Regions from separate parts of the Homo sapiens genome. Here region 2 is linked to region 1. Evidence: promoter capture Hi-C in 16 types of primary human blood cells and fetal thymus (Javierre and others, 2016). All regions are on one chromosome and are shown on one strand. Each heading gives the region's core, a stretch centred on a gene start or on the middle of the fragment in contact. The rest is flanking DNA. Distances are from core to core; before and after follow the strand shown. Region 1 holds the start of LMAN1L (lectin, mannose binding 1 like). Region 2 overlaps EDC3 (enhancer of mRNA decapping 3).

The links. Contacts are between HindIII fragments. The CHiCAGO score rates a contact against its expected background, and 5 or more counts as called.
Region 2: a contact is called between a fragment that was not itself captured here and the fragment with the promoter of LMAN1L in region 1, in 3 of 17 cell types (monocytes, megakaryocytes and naive CD8 T cells). The highest score is 5.3, in monocytes.

Annotation. Positions count from the first base shown.
Region 1 is chr15:74,811,549-74,814,248 of GRCh38, forward strand. It overlaps LMAN1L (lectin, mannose binding 1 like), which reads left to right and starts at 1,287. Exons shown (of 14, transcript NM_021819.3): 1 at 1,287-1,481. The coding sequence starts at 1,307. The HindIII fragment of the contact is 4,468 bases long and covers 1-2,700 here.
Region 2 is chr15:74,651,712-74,654,411 of GRCh38, forward strand. The region is part of intron 4 of EDC3 (enhancer of mRNA decapping 3); the gene reads right to left. Among named protein-coding and RNA genes, the nearest start is that of CLK3, 37 kb to the left of the region's middle. The HindIII fragment of the contact is 9,021 bases long and covers 1-2,700 here.

The DNA.
Region 1 (2,700 bases), core at 37-2,536:
AGGCCAAGTCAGGCGGATCACGAGGTCAGAAGATCGAGACCACCCTGGTTAACACGGTGAAATCCCATCTCTACTAAAAAATACAAAAAATTAGCCAGGCATGGTGGCGGGCACCTGTAGTCCCAGCTACTTGGGAGGCTGAGGCAGAAGAATGGTGTGAACCCGGGAGGCAGAGCTTGCAGTGAGCCAAGATCGCGCCACTGCACTCCAGCCCGGGCGATAGAGCGAGACTCCGTCTCAAAAAATAAATAAATAAAATAAAATAAAAAATAAAAAACATAACCACAATACCATATTAGTTCTCAATTTTTTTTTTCGAAATGGATTTTTGCTCTTATCACCCAGGCTGGAGTGCAATGGTGCAATCTCCGCTCACTACAATCTCTGCCTCCCAGGTTCAAGTGATTCTCCTGCCTCAGCCTCCCAAGTAGCTGGGATTACAGGCATGCACCACCAGGCCTGGCTAATTTTTTGTATTTTTTTTTAGTAGAGACAGAGTTTCACAATGTTGGCCAGGCTGGTCTCGAACTCCTGACCTCAGGTGATCCACCTGCCTTGGGCTCCCAAAGTGCTAAGATTACAGACATGAGCCACAGTGCCCTAAAATTTTTAACAATTCCTCAATATAGTCAAATATCCATTGTTCAAAAATATCCATTGTTCAAATTTCCCCAATATCTTTTTTTTTTTTTGCAGTTGGGTTAAAATTTGGCTCCAAACAAGGTCTGCACGTTGCGTTTTTGTGCTGTCTCTAAAGACTCCCTTCTTTTTTCCATGTAATGCTTTTGTTGAGGAAACCAGGCTGCTTGGAAGGATGAGCCTGGGGGAATTCGGGAGAGGGAGAGAGGGGGCAGGGAGGAGAGAAGGATGGGTGTCCAGATAGATGTGCCATCCATGCTGGGGGACACAGGCAGAATGTGGAGGCCTGTCTCCCTAACTGGGAGGGGAGGCCAGGGCTGCTGAAGGGTGGGGGCCAACCCTGGGCACCCCCCCTTCCCCTCTGCCGCATCCAACTGCTGGAAGTGATGGGAGACAGAAAGATGGCCTGAGTCAGGAGCAGGGGCAGAGCTCAGGTTGTCGTGGGGTCCCGCTGCCCACGTCAGACTGGAGGTGAGGGATGGGCGGGGCCTGACAGCAGGCCTGGAAGGAACAGGATGTCTATGCTGGAGATAGAGGGAGAGGACAGTGCCAAAACCCAGCTCCTGGCCAGTCCCCAGCTCCTCCCTGCCTGGCCCTATCCCAGGATCCCCTCCCCGGCCTCCCAGCTATGATCTACCCCGGGGCCCAGACTTCAGGCGCCTTCACGATGCCGGCGGTCAGTGGTCCAGGTCCCTTATTCTGCCTTCTCCTCCTGCTCCTGGACCCCCACAGCCCTGAGACGGGGTGTCCTCCTCTACGCAGGTTTGAGTACAAGCTCAGCTTCAAAGGCCCAAGGCTGGCATTGCCTGGGGCTGGAATACCCTTCTGGAGCCATCATGGAGGTGAGGGGCAGGGGTGGGGACCAGCTATGCCCAGGGTCCCTCAAAGTGCTGGAGGGGCTGTGACTTGGTGGGGAGTGGGTCTGTCACAGCCATCCTCTGTCCAGGGTGGGGCAAGGCCTGGGACAGTGCCAGGCACCCCAGGACCCCTTCCAGGCTTGTCTCCTGCTCCACCGCCTCAACACCCCCCACCCCTGCCCAAGCTGTTTCTCCTCTGCCTCTCTGCTTCCCTGCCCCAGGACTTCTCTCTTCTCCTCTGCCTCTCCTTGGACCCCTGCCCTTCCTCTACCTCTGACCTGTGAACACACAGACACATGCTCACACACTAAGTCCCAGGCACACAGAAGGCAATGTGGACCAGCACAAACCTCCACTCTCCCGGCTCCATCCCAGCGGGCCTGTGGCTGGCCATGAGAACTGGGGGCTACCTGGAGGGAAGCATCCTCATCCCAGGTGAGTGGGCACCAGCCCTTCCCTGTATGTGTGTTGTGGGTGGAAGCAGGCATGAGAGCATCTTAGCCCATAGGTTTGTATTCAGGGACTTCCAAACCCAGACCTACAAAGAGTGTGTCTTCTACCAGATCTTGTTCAAAAAAGGGTTTGTGATGATGGAACTACACGATAGAGGGAGTGAGCAAGAACAATGAGGATTAGAGTGGAGCGTGAAATAGTCTAGGAGCATGGCTTCCAAAACATATGCTGTGAGGTCTGTCCACCTGAGAGTTGGGCCATGGATTTAATTCTGAGCCTCTTAGCAGGCAAAGCAAAGACAGAAAGCAGATCGGCTGTGGATTTCTGTCTATAAAATGTGAGTTCTTGGCCAGGTGCAGTGGCTCACGCCTGTAATCCCAGCACTTTGGGAGGCCAAGGCGGATGAATCACGAGGTCAAGAGGTTGAAAACCATCCTGGCCAAAATGGTGAAACCCTGACTCTACTAAAAATACAAAAATTAGCTGGGTGTGGTGGCGTGCGCCTGTAGTCCCAGCTCCTCAGGAGGCTGAGGCAGGAGAATTGCTTGAACCTGGGAGGCCAAGGTTGCAGTGAGCTGAGATCCTGCCATTGCACTTCAGCCTGGGCACAGAGCCAGACTCTGGCTCAAAAAAAAAAAAAAAAAAGATGTGAGTTCTGAGAAATGGCACGATTCCTAACTAAAGCCAGGACAAAATATCCCTTTTTTTTTTGTGAGATGGAGTTTCACTCTTGTTGCCCAGGCTGGAGTGC
Region 2 (2,700 bases), core at 176-2,675, 160 kb before region 1:
CCAAGTTACTTCTGTAAACTGCTGGTCCATTCCTGAGAGACTGCAGTACTAAAGAAAAGACTACAGAGATGTCCCTCAACTTACAATGAGTGTTATCCCAATAAACCCATCATAAATTGAAAATATCTAAGTTGAAAATGCATTTAATACACCTAACCTACCAAACAAACATCATAGTTCAGCCTAGCCTACCTTAAACCTGCTCAGAACACTTACACTAGCCTACAGTTGGGCAAAATCATCTGGCAAAACAGTACACTGTAGAATACTGGTTGTTTACTCTCATGACTGCACGGCTGACTGCTTTGACTCCTGCTGCTGCCCAGCATTAGAGAATATCATACCTGCATATCGCTAGCTCAGGAAAAGATCTAAATTAATAATTTCAACTACAGTTTCTACTGACTATTGCTTTCACATCATCCTAGAATCAAAAAATGATAAGTCTAACCATTGTAAGTTGGAGGATCATCTGTAGTCTATTTGCCATTAAACTGCCCTTCTCTTCTTATATTTTTCCTTTTTTTTTTTTTTGAGACAGAGTCTCGCTCTGTCACCCAGGCTGGAGTGCAGTGCTGCGATCTCCGCTCACTGCAAGCTCCGCCTCCCAGGTTCACGCCATTCTCCCGCCTCAGCCTCCCAAGTAGCTGGGACTACAGGCGCCCACCACCATGCCCGGCTCATTTTTTTGTATTTTTAGTAGAGACGGGGTTTCACCGTGTTAGCCAGGATGGTCTCCATCTCCTGACCTCGTGATCCACACGCCTCAGCCCCCCAAAGTGCTGGGATTACAGGCATGAGCCACTGCGCCTGGCCTTTTCCTCATTTTTATTCACATTTAGAAGAGAAAAGGAGATGTGATGGGTAAGGTTTTTGTGTTTTTTTTTTGAGACAGGGTCTGACTCTGTCACCCAGGCTGGAGTACAGTGGCATGACTTTGGCTCATTGCAGCCGCAACCTCATGGGCTCAGACGCTCCTACTTCAGCCTCCTGAGTAGCTGGGACTACAGGCACATGCCACCGTGCCCAGCTAATGTTTTCTATTGTTTGTAGAGACAGGGTCTCACTTTGTTGCCCAGGCTGGTCTTGAACTCCTGAGTTCAAGCAATCCTCCCACCTTGGCCTCCCGAAGTGCTGGGATTACAGGCATGAGTCACTGCACCTGGCCAATGGAAAACCCTTTACCAGCTGGGCGTGGTGGCTGACGCCTGTAATCCCAGCACTTTGGGAGGCCAAGGCAGGCAGATCACTTGAGGCCAGGAGTTTGAGACCAGCCTGGCCAACACGGTGAAACCTCGTCTCTACTAAACATACAAAAATTAGCCAGGCATGGTGGCAGGTGCCTGTAATCCCAGCTACTCAGGAGGCTGAGGCAGGAGAATCGCTTGAACCTGGGAGGTAGAGGTTGCGGTGCGCTGAGAGCTGAGATCACGCCACTGCACTGCAGCCTGGATGACAAAACAAGACTCTGTCTCCAAAAAAAAAAAAAAAACCTTTACCTCTCTGGGCCTCATGTCCTCATCTGTAAAATGAAAAAATCATACTAGGTGATCAACTAACCTAACACTAACATTTTATGCTTTTAGACTGTTTCCCTATATATTCTAGTTTGCCTTTTTTGATCCAAACATTTGGATAGCAGATCCAATGGAGAAAGTGTCCCCAGCTCTGCACTGACTGCCCCTCAGTGAAAACCTGCTTGAGGATTGTGCCTTGGAACTCGAACACAGAGAAAACCCCCCTGTAGAAGAAGTTGCTCAGTAAGATAACTGCCTGCTTGCTCTATTTCCAGCACAGACGCTGCTTGGCAAAAGGGCTTCCTTTCCACTCCTTGTCACTGTTAAGAACAAAGAGAAAAACCAGATGGCATGAAGCTGCTGGGCTTCTTTCCCCCTCATTGTCATGAACCAGTGGAGTGCAACTGGTCACTACATACCACAAGACGCCACACCCAAGTTTCTGGCTAAGGACCAGCACATGTGGTTTGTGGTATGTTTATTGATAGGAAAATAATTTTATATGACAGAACTTTTCACTTCAGTCATTAAAAACAAAAGAAGTGTGAAGATCAAGTTGGGGAGCCAGAGTGTGTAGCAGAAAAAAATTTCTACCTCTGCTTTTGTCCATGTTAGTAAATATTTTCTCATGCTCTGTTAGTTCTGAGAATTCTCCCTGATTCTCACTGTTATTCTCACTCTTAGCCACTTGACTCCAGGGCAGATCATAATCTTCCCAAGTTAAAAAAATCCTGCAGTGTAGGGCTGGGCGCGGTGGCTCACACCTGTAATCCCAGCGCTTTGGGAGGCCAAAGCAGGTGGATCACGAGGTCAGGAGTTCAAGACCAGCCTGGCCAACATAGTGAAACCCCATCTCTACTAAAAATACAAAAAAATTAGCCAGGCATGGTGGTGTGTACCTGTAGTCCCAGCTACTCAGGAGGCTGAGGCAGGAGAATCGCTTGAACCCAGGAGGTGGAGGTTGGCAGTGAGCAGAGATTGCGCCATTGCACTCCAGCTTGGGCAACAGAGTGAGACTTCGTCTCAAAAAAAAAAAAAAAAAATCCTGCAGTGTAAATAGTTCCAGGGAAATCACACGCTGCATAAACCAACAGCCTCAGCAGCAGCACTTGGACTACAGATATAGAGAGCTAGCAGCAGGAGCAGCTTCTTTTACAAAGAGGGCAGTAAAAAAGGAAGCAGT